Regions from separate parts of the Homo sapiens genome. Here all the other regions are linked to region 2. Evidence: promoter capture Hi-C in human tissues and cell types (Jung and others, 2019). All regions are on one chromosome and are shown on one strand. Each heading gives the region's core, a stretch centred on a gene start or on the middle of the fragment in contact. The rest is flanking DNA. Distances are from core to core; before and after follow the strand shown.

Region 1 (3,300 bases), core at 392-2,891, 330 kb before region 2:
CATATGGAGTAACCCTCATTGATTTAACCGGACCCTGCAGGTGGACACTTAGGTTGCTCCAGGTCTTCCCATTATGATAAGCAATGCTGCCAATGAGCATCTTGCTGCAAATGCCTTTGCATGATGTTCTGCTTATTTCCATTAAAACGTTATTAGTGGGTCAAAGAGTATGTGATATTACTAGGCTTTGGCTAAGTAGTGAGAATGGGGCCATTTCACAGGTGAGCGATCCTACTGTACACAAAGCACTTTACAAGGCTCCAAGGGGGTTGAGAAGGAGATAGGAGGTGGGCTCATCTCCATCCCTTGGGCAAATACTGTCCAGCACCCTTGTGAAGTTTCTAAGCCTCAACTGAACGGCTGCTTGGAGCTAGTGACTTAGCCATTAGAGGTTTTAGTCATAGACATTATTTTTACAAAAATGATTTTAAAAGGTTTTAGAATACATAAATACATTCATGCATGTGCCAGAAAGATGCAATTTACAATTAAGTTCTATAATCACACCTGACCAAACCCACAACTCAATATAGCACAGGTGTGAGCCACCAACGAACCCCAATTTCAGTTCGAAAGGGTGAAATCATTATTTTCACCCTCTCAACATATTTAATAGTTGTTGTAAAACAAATGAATATAATTTGGCTTCATTTGGAATTCCCTTTTCTGTTATTGCTTCCTTGCAATTCTAGTTGAGCTGAAATCTATTAAATACAACAACTTCCCATCACCTGTGTGCTCAAGCAAATCCAGTCTGACACTGGGTGAAGAACTACAGTTTGGAAACACAGGAACAAAGGATGTGTGGAAACACTGACTTCTCATCCTCTAGAGTTCACATAATTCAAATCCAATTCTCCCCAGCCCTCCCAGCTCTGCCCTGCCTGCCTTCATTGAGGTCAGATAGCAGAGTGATGCTGATCCTTCATATAAAAACAGCACATCACAAGCTATAATATAAGTTCCACCTTTGTTGCTCCTGATGCTGGGAAGGTTGGCTGAGAAAACAAGGGCTCACTTTGCAGATGAGGCTCAGGTCAGGGAAAGGTGGAGCTGGTAGGGGCCTGCCAAATGAGGCAGGCTGGTCAGTGCCTATGTCTTTCCCCCTTCCCCAAGCTGGTTTCAGCCCCATGGTTTGAAGTAAAGAAGTCCCCAAACTTCAATTTGGCAGCTATTGCCCTAAACCAGATGACTAAAGGGCTGACTCTGAGCAGCAGTTTGCAAGAGCAAGGTAACAGTGTTGCTGGCTGGTTGAGAGAACCAGCTTATGCCGGGTGAACTCTACTTAGTATTATGAATTAATGGTGCTAGGAGATGCTAATTATGTTCTAAAGGCTTACCTAAGTAAAACAAAATGTTGGAAACTTTTATTTTGACATTTTGCTTTTCCATGAAATCTTAAAATCAGAACCACTGATTCATACAACCACAAACAAGAAGTTATATTATTTTTAACAAATTACCTAGATTCTAGTCACCACGCTAATGTCTCACACATGCTCTCTTCAAGCCTCAAGATAATCATATGAAGTGGAAATCATTATCTCCTTTTTATAGACCAGGAAACTGAAGCCCAGAAAGTAACATTATTTGCTCCAAGTCACAGAGTGAAGAAGTGGCAAAGGCAGGATCCTAACTCAAGTCTAGCGCCAGAGCATAGCTACCTAGATGAGGGAAGGAGGGCAGGAATCTCCCCAGCATAGCTGGGTAATGATGCTTTTATTCATGGATCACACCTTTGCAGAATACCCTCTGGGAGGAAGCCCAGCCTAGTGGAAAAAGGCTGCTTAGGGACAGGCAGTCCCAGGCTGGGGTCCTTGTGTTCCCCCTACCAGCAGAGTGACCAGCTGGCTGCTTAACCTCTCAGGGCTTCAGTGTCTCCAAGTGTAATGCAAAGATATGCTATCTTCCTGTTGTGTTGCTGGGAGGACTACAGGAAGAAGCATGTGAGGAAAGAGCTAAGCAGTGCCTGCCACATAGTAGGTGCTTGACAGACGTCGGTCCTCTTGCCTGTCCCTGAAGGGAAGCCACTGAGCAAGTCACCAACACTCAGGGCTTAGGGTTGGATGTGCTCTTTGATGTCAGCTGGCTCAACTCTCCCACTTTACAGATGGGAAAACCGAGGTTCAGAAAGGAATGGCAACTTGTCCAAGATCACAGTGCAGGGCAATGGCAGAGATGGGACAAGAACTCATCTGCTGACCCGCATCTTCTGCTTTTTCTACAACAGCCTGTTGGTAACTTTACCTCTTCATGGCAGCTGCCAAGTGAGCTATAATGTAAGTAGATTAGAGATGAAGAACAGCATGAATATTTTGATGGGTTAGTGAAAGGAAAACAATAACTATTTGACCAAAGAGTAATTGTCTAGAATATACTTTCTTATTTATCAAATAAGTATGCAGCACTTACTCTGCACCTGCCCGGAACTGTTCTAAGGCCTTCACAAACATGAGCTTGCTTCATCATCAGTACAATCCTAGGAGGAAGTTACTCTTTCTATCATCCCCATTTTATGGATGAGGAACAGGTGGCACAGAGAGGTTAACTTGCTCACGGTTCTATTTCTAGTAAATGGGCAGAGCTGGGATCTGAATCCAGGCAGCATGGCTACAGGGTCCATATCATAATCACTATGGCATGCTGCTTCTCACAAGGAATAATGAATTTATTTTTACTGTATACAAGACTGCACATTACTTGAGAATACTAATCATAATCATAATCATAATCATAGTGGCATTAATAGGAAAAAATACAAACAGACGATCCCCTCTGTGAGTTTCTTTGGAAACTTAATGGTACCTCCCCAAGTTTCCAAAATTCTCCTTCCCCATCTCTCCACCCACCTCTGTGGCACATCCCATTCCCCTCACCTGGAAATATTTTCCTTCCTTGTCTGACTTCCAGTCTTATCCTTCAAGACTCAGCTAGGATATCACTAGCTTTGGGAAAGCCTTTCCAACAGTGTCTCAATCACAGAGGGTCAATGTTCCCTGATTCAGCAGGGTTTGACCTTGTGTCCATGATGAGAATGGCTAAAAAAGATAATGACTTTCCTCAAAGAACCTTCCCAGTGGTCTCAGATCACTCCGCTCATCAATGATGCCCAGGAGTAAGATCATAGTCACTTCACTGAGGCATGGATGTGTCTAATGCCCTTGATGCCACACGCATTTATGGGATAGCTTCTTTGCACCTGGCATTTTCACACGTTATTGCATTTAATGAACATTCCAAGCTTTGAGGCAAGTACTGTCAACCCTATTTGAGCAAGAAGGACCCTGGATTGGGAAAATC
Region 2 (3,506 bases), core at 1,007-3,506:
TGAAACCTCAGTTCTGACTGACTCCTCCTCTGCGATCAATTCCGGATGCCCCCACTTAGTCCCTGCCTCGGTAACCGGTTCTTTGGGGACAGCAGCATCAGCACCCGACGCCCATCGCACAAGTGGGCGCCGTGGTGCGAGGCGTATCCTAGCTACCCAGGCCGGGGTGGGGGCGCCCCGGTACTTACACTCCCCAAGCAGGCAAACTTTCAGGCTTGTCTTTCGAGAACCGGGAGCTCGCATCACAGTTCCGGGTAATCACCGAGGCAGCTTATGTAATTGCCCGCGATGCCGCTCAGCAGATCTCTCTCCTTACTCGGCCTCAGAGCTCAGTACATGGGCACCCTCTTCCCCCCACCCCCCACCCCGGCGATTGGAATCCCGAGCTTGCCCCACCACCGCCTTCTACAAAGCAGCGGGGTGATCTCGTGTGCTACAAACACCAAGCCAGTATGCAGGTTCAGGCAAAACTCTGGCTGCCTCCCTGCGCCCCTTTCACTGCGTCGATGGTTTACAGATAACTGCATTTCTATAAACCCTCTCTCCACGGTTAGGGGGTGGGAGGGAGTTAGAGATCGGGTGGGGGCTTGGCGCGGTACTGTTGAGGGCTCTGCACCCAACTGAGCAGTAATACACTCATCCACATGGACGCGGGTGCATAAATCGCCTTAACATTTTGCCCTGAAAGCGGAGCCAATTTCCAAAGTTAAGGACCACGCAGCTGAATTTCCAGTACTTTCCAACCTCGCCTAGGCGGGGGCAGGCAGAGAAGGGGCGGGCAGCGGGCAGCTAACTCGCCCGACCCCCCCGCCAAGAAGGACTCACTAGGTGAACCCCCCGCCCTTCACCCAAGTAGTTGGTTGTGTATTCCTCGGTTGCGTGTGTGTGTCCACACACACACACACACACACACACACACGCCGCCCCACTACCTTCCAGTCTGCTCCTCCAATGTAACGACCGCATTTAAAAATGGCAATTAAAATGACTGAGGAGCTCGGTGATCACATTTCAACCCAGAGCACATTTCCCGAAGCTGGGGGTGAGAGTAGTCATACAGTCACACTCACACCCGGGAGCCCTCCAAGCGTCCATCTGGCGGCTGCAGCCTCAGTTGGCTCCTAGACGAACATCAATACCGCGGCCGGGCGCCCGGTGAGGAGAGGCGGGCGCCCCGCGGGTTGCAGAGGGCGAGGAGCTGGGGTCGCATCTCCAGGATCTGAGCTCCAACCACCGCCCGTGCGGGGCTGCTGCAGCCGGCACTTGCCCCGCAGGGCAGGCTGCAGCCGCTGAAGCCCGGCGCCGCCTCGCGGGCTCCTCCAGCGCCCGACGGGGGCCTGGGGCGAGCTAGTCTGCAGAGGGGCTGCAGGCGACCGGGCCGGGGCGGGGAACGGGATCCGGGAGAGGCAGACGAACCTGGGGCGCGCCGCCTCCCTCCCACCCGCTTCCCACCTCCCTGCCCTCCCCCAACCCTTGCTCCCAGGCTCCAGTCCGCGGCGGGCTCCGGGGGCTGCGGCGGCTCCAGGCTCCAGAACAGCTTGCCTCTTCGGCCACCCGCGCCCTAGCCTCCCTCCTCCTGGGCCAGGGGAGCAAGCAAACATCTCCCGGAGCCCTCGGCAGCCGCGTGAGCTACCCGAACCCTGCCCGGGCCAGCAGTGCAGAGGGCGATGGAGCTGGCGAGGCGTCGCCGCGGTCCCCAAGGCGCTTTTCCGTAGAGCGGATCACGCCGCCTTACCGTGGCTGCAGGCTGCTACCGCCGGGGAAGCGGCGAGGACGGCGGCAGGGAGGCAAGGCGCCGCGCCGGTGGCTCCTCTCTCTCTCGGCGGCGCGGCTCCTCTGCTCCGCGAGCCGTAGCGGGGCGCCCAGGAAGGAGCAGGTCCGGGCTCTGCGCTCAGCTCCAGCGAGACCAACAATAGCTCCCGCGGGGAGCGGAGCCCCAGCGAGCCTCCAGCCGCGCGCGCACGACCGGCTCCCGCTCCCGGCCGCTCCCGGCCGGCGTCCCTGCCAGCACTGCTGCCCCACATGAAACAGCTGCAATCCCGAGGCTTCTGGGGGGTTGGGGCGGGTGTGTGCGCGCGCGTGTGTGAGTGTGTGTGTGTGTGTGTGTGTTTAATAGCTTCCCTTCTCTTCTTCCCCTCCCTGCCTGCTCGCCTGCCTGCCTCCGTCCCCCACCCTCGCTCTCTTACACACAGAAAGAGAGGGCGAGCGAGAGAGAGACACACACACACACGCACACGCACACGCAGGTTACATGAATGGGAGGCGGTAGCCAATCCTACGAGGCCGGCGAGCCGCGCGGCGCACTGGCGCTGGGAGCAGGGCCGCACTCCGGCGCGGGGGGGCGCCACGCAGGTGATGGGCGCCTCTCCGGGGGCCACGCGCGGCCGCTCCCTCACCCCAGTCTCGGTTCCTCTGTCTCCTTCCCCCTTCCTCTCCGCCGCCTTCTCCATCTTCTCTCCTTTTACCTCCTTTGCTTTCTCGAGTTCTCCGAGCTCTCTCAGTTCGGTATCTTTCTGGTCTCTTTCTTCTTTTACCCTCCTTGCTTGCTTTCTCTTCCCCTTTCTGAAACTTTCTCTTTTCCTTTCTGGACTTTCTTGTACTTCCTCTCCTCTTGCCTTTTGTTCTTTCCTCCTCCTTTGGCTTTCTCTCCAGGCTCCCCGTAGCACGGTCTCGTCCCCTCTCCCTCCTCTTCGCCTTTCCCTGGGTCTCTCTGGCGCCCAGGGCCTCCCTTCTGCCTGCTCGCTGGATGTTACTCCACACCCCCCACCCCAACACTTTTCTAGGGACGGTCTCTTTCAAGTTGCTACTGCAGCACAATCAGAGTAATTAAGAGCTGAGATCTTGAGTTCCTTCTTCAGGCATGCAAGATGCCCAAAGAAAGGCCCTCCTTCCTCGGACAACTTCCCCAAAACCATGGTAACAGCTACTGAGTCGTGATAACAATCACTTAAAAAATAGCAGTGATTGCGGTCCAAGAGATTTCTGTCCCTCGAATGTTTGGATCGTGATGGCAAGCACATTTCCAAGAGAAGGGCATTTTTATGTGATGAGAGCGGTAGTTTGACTGAGTGGCAACTTGGAAGGGCTTTGGGGAAGAGACTGGAGGAATTCCCACTCCAGCCCTGCTGCCTGCTGGCTAAAGGACTTAGTGCGAGCCATTTCCCCTTACCCGGCTTCAGTTTTCTCATCTATAAAATGGATGATACCGACTTCACCAGTTTTGGTGAGGATTAAAAGAGAGAACAATGGAAAGAAAGCACTGGGTGTATATGAGATGCTTAATTTATGTTAGTTTCCTTCTTTAAGACAACTTCCTTCATGATCTTCTGCTACAGTGTGTCTCTCTGATCTAAAGTAGTCAATGAAGGAGGAAATGTGACAATGCTAATTTCACATAAATGTGAAAGGAGGGGTAGGCTATTTTGAAAACTCTTCTGTGTGGTGAGGAGACTGTCTAGCCAGTTGCCATATGCTGATTATAAAGGCATCACAGATTATAAACGTGG
Region 3 (3,379 bases), core at 376-2,875, 370 kb before region 2:
ACATCTCGGGACTAGGATGTCTTAGGAACTTAACTCCTAGGAAAATGCAAGGTAAGGGCTCACTCTAAGGGTTCCATGATCCTGTTGAGCCAGTCAGCTCCTCTGATGTGTGAGTTTGGAAGATTTACTTCATCCAATTTAAGAAGTCCTCATGGTTTACTTGCTTTATGTCCTTTTTGGCCTCTTTTCTGAGGCCCGGGGCATGAGTTGACATCCCATCTCACTCAACATCTAGCTGTGCAATCTTGGGCTTGTGATCACCTGAGCTTCAATGTTCTTGTCTTTAAAATGGGATGATAATCTATGACCTGCTACCTTCAAAGGATTTTTGAGGATCCAGGGTGATAATTTGAAGGAGAGTATTTTGTAAACTGCTACGCACATGCCTGCCTATGAGATGAGAATGCTTATTTGTTATTTACAAAGACAAGGAGCCGCCCCTTCCCTGAGCCTCATGTGCTAGGTCCAAGCCAACCGGGGCTCACTGAGCTCTGTCACTTACGGACAGGACGGAGCAAAAGAAAAGCTTTCAGAGACCATTTTGTCTCTTCTCTTCAGTGAGATCCAGAGATGACAATGAATAACAGGCAGCATTTCTGAAGCATCTGTTCTGTGCCAGGTACTGGTGTCAAGTGTTTCATTTATAGTTCTCATCAATCCTCACCACCTATTAGGTACTGTTTATCCCTTTGCACAGGTAAAGTAGCTGAGAATACTAAAAATGGCAGAGCCACAGTTCAAATCTAGGTCTGTTTGATGCCAGAGTTGGAGCCTTAACCATAAGCTGGGAAAGGGACTGCTCATTTTTCAAGCCTCACAGGCAGAACAGGTCAGCTTTCACATGGATACAGGCCTGTGGGAGAGAATGGAAATGAAGAGGTCATAGGTGTGCTCTGTGTGTGTGTGTGGCCAGCTCCTCTTACCTCTGTGATCTTGGGCAAATGATTCACCCTGGGGTTGTTATGAGAATTAAATAACACTGTCAAAATGCATATACATTACATAGCACAGTGCTCAGCTGACCCTGTCTGTGAAGGGGGAGAAGGGCAGAGCAAATCAGGGTGGGCTGCACAAATTGTCAGGCATTGGTCATGACCCAACAGGCATCAAAGAGGGCTCAAGCCTCTGCAGGCAGAAAAACAGGAATCACCGAGGCACCAGGGTAGGAAAGAAATATCATGGCAGGTCTGGAAACTTGAGCAGTTCAGCAGGGCTGGCCCATGAGTGGTGGAGTGTGGAGAGTTAGGGGACAAAAAAAGTCTAGAAAAACAGAAACAGATTTGGGGAAAGAGTTCTATGCTAGGGGGAGCTCAGTTTAAGGGCAACAGGGAGTCACCCCCAAGCTTCATCTGGCTGCAGTACAGAGAATGGCTAGAGGCGGGCAGCTCTGGGTGAAGGGGGGTGGTTGTGGTTAATCCTCCAAGAAAAATGATAATGGTTTGCACTGGGAAGTATCAGAGGGAATGGCTAAGAAGAATGGATTTGAATACTGGGGCAGGATGGATAGGCTTTGGGGACTACTGTAGGTAGAAAGTGCAGGAGAGGGAGCCAGGCACCAGAATATCCTACAAATTACTAAGTTTTCATGTCTAACCATCTCGGGAAGGTCTTCCTCTCAAGGTCACACAGGGCTTGACACAAAGAAACTGCTAAATATGTTTGTTGAATGAACAGCAAAACTAGGAACTAACATTTATTCAGCGCTTACTTGGTATTATCAGGCTTACCACTTAAAGGCCATCTCATTAAGTCCTCAGGACAATTCAGTGCACTAGGGAGGCTTCTCACGGCCATGTAACAGTTGAGGACTGAGGCTTAGAGGGGAGCCTAACTCAACTCTAGGCAGGTAGACAAACACTGGAGCCCAGCTCCTAACCACCTCACTATGCCAGGGAAGTGGGTGAGCGAGAAAATAAATGAACTAAGAATGAACTACAGGGCAGGCTTTTTACCAGGTCCAAGTGCCCAAATGGCAGAAACTTGCTGTTGATATGGCACCCCAACTGGTGTTCCAGCTCACCTGTGCCACGCCCACCTGCGCCACGCCCACCCGAGCCCATGCCTACCTGAGCCAAGCTCACCTGCGCCTGAGGCCCGCCCCCTCGGCCTTGTCCTTACCTGTGCGGCAGAATTCCTCGGCCTCCTGCGGCACAATGTCCTTGACGCGGCTGCCATAGGCTAGGCGGGCGTCCTGGTCGTAGGCCTTCAGGGTCTCGCTGGAGCTGTACGATTTCTGCGGGGCTTTGCCCTCCTCGCTGTCCGCGGACGAGCTGGTGTAGCGGCGCTCGGCGTCGCGGCGCCGGGTCAGCGAGCGGTAAGGCTTCCTCTCCTTCACGTCCATGGCCTCCGGCCCGCGCTCCTCCACATCCACAAACAGGGTCCTCGCCGCACTCAGGGCCGAGTGGTCTAGAGCCAGGGAAACCAAAGATAGGGCGTGAGAGGCAGAGAACATTCCCGGGTTCATCCTGGTCCTGGATTCACCCTTGCAGCCCTGTGGACAGAGAACCCCAGGCAGTGGAGGAGAGGGTACCGCTCCACCACTACGCAGCCCATAAGTGGCAAAGGAAAGTCGCACCCAGGACCTCTAATTACAAATCCTGGCCCTTTTTGCTACTTAGCCTATTCACCTTGAGGAGGCCTCCTCCAGTGATGGGCACCGAGGAAGCTGACAGCAAAGGCCAAAGGGCACTGGTGGTTAGTAATATTCCTAGGTAGGAACCAAGCCTGTTTGGTTCCCATCACATCCCACATGGAGCAGGGCCTGACCCAGCTCTGGCCCAGGGCTCCTTAAAAATCTGTGAGATGAATGATTGCATGCAAACACTGGGGTAAGCACTTTGCATATATTATCTTAGTAAATCTTGATATCTTCTGAGATGTTATTACTCTCTCCAACCTCTTTTGGAAACGAGCTAAGGTATAAACAACCAACCCACACTTACCACTACCAGATGATTATATAATTATTTGCTTTTTGCCCATCTCCTTCTGCTAGTCTGTAAGCTCTATGAGAGCAGAAACTTTACCTGTACTGCTCACTCCTGGTCTCTAGCACCTCGAACAAGGGCTGGTACACAGTAGGCGCATAATAAAGATGTGTTTAATTAACCAGCTAACCATCCCCATCTGACAGATGAGAAAACTGAGACTCGGAACCCCCTTCAAGGTCACTTAGGTGTCAAGTAAAAAAGCCAGGATTGGAACTCTGATCTGTTTGGCTCTAAAGCCTGCATTTTTCCTATTCCATTCTGCCTCCCTGAGACGTCTCCCTCCTACTCTTAGTACACAAAAGTGCCCTTCCAGTTACTCAGAGAATGTCCCTCACCTCCAGACTTGCCCATCTCCTCAGTGCCACCGTCAGCACTGGGCAGCACAGTGT

The links. The method cuts DNA at HindIII sites, captures the fragments that hold promoters and counts their contacts. A contact is called where the count stands out against the background at its distance.
Region 1: a contact is called between a fragment that was not itself captured here and the fragment with the promoter of TENM4 in region 2, in 1 of the 25 tissues and cell types used here (IMR-90 fibroblasts).
Region 3: a contact is called between a fragment that was not itself captured here and the fragment with the promoter of TENM4 in region 2, in 1 of the 25 tissues and cell types used here (IMR-90 fibroblasts).

What each region holds. Positions count from the first base shown.
Region 1 is chr11:79,104,572-79,107,871 of GRCh38, forward strand. The region is part of intron 4 of TENM4 (teneurin transmembrane protein 4); the gene reads right to left. Among named protein-coding and RNA genes, the nearest start is that of TENM4-AS1, 13 kb to the left of the region's middle. The HindIII fragment of the contact is 5,008 bases long and covers 1-3,300 here.
Region 2 is chr11:79,438,774-79,442,279 of GRCh38, forward strand. It overlaps TENM4 (teneurin transmembrane protein 4), which reads right to left and starts at 2,257. Exons shown (of 34, transcript NM_001098816.3): 1 at 1,736-2,257. RefSeq lists silencers at 1,846-1,955, 2,216-2,385. The HindIII fragment of the contact is 13,466 bases long and covers 1-3,506 here.
Region 3 is chr11:79,067,604-79,070,982 of GRCh38, forward strand. It overlaps TENM4 (teneurin transmembrane protein 4), which reads right to left. Exons shown (of 34, transcript NM_001098816.3): 5 at 2,119-2,406. The coding sequence starts at 2,341. Among named protein-coding and RNA genes, the nearest start is that of TENM4-AS1, 24 kb to the right of the region's middle. RefSeq lists an enhancer at 2,146-2,702. The HindIII fragment of the contact is 6,519 bases long and covers 1-3,379 here.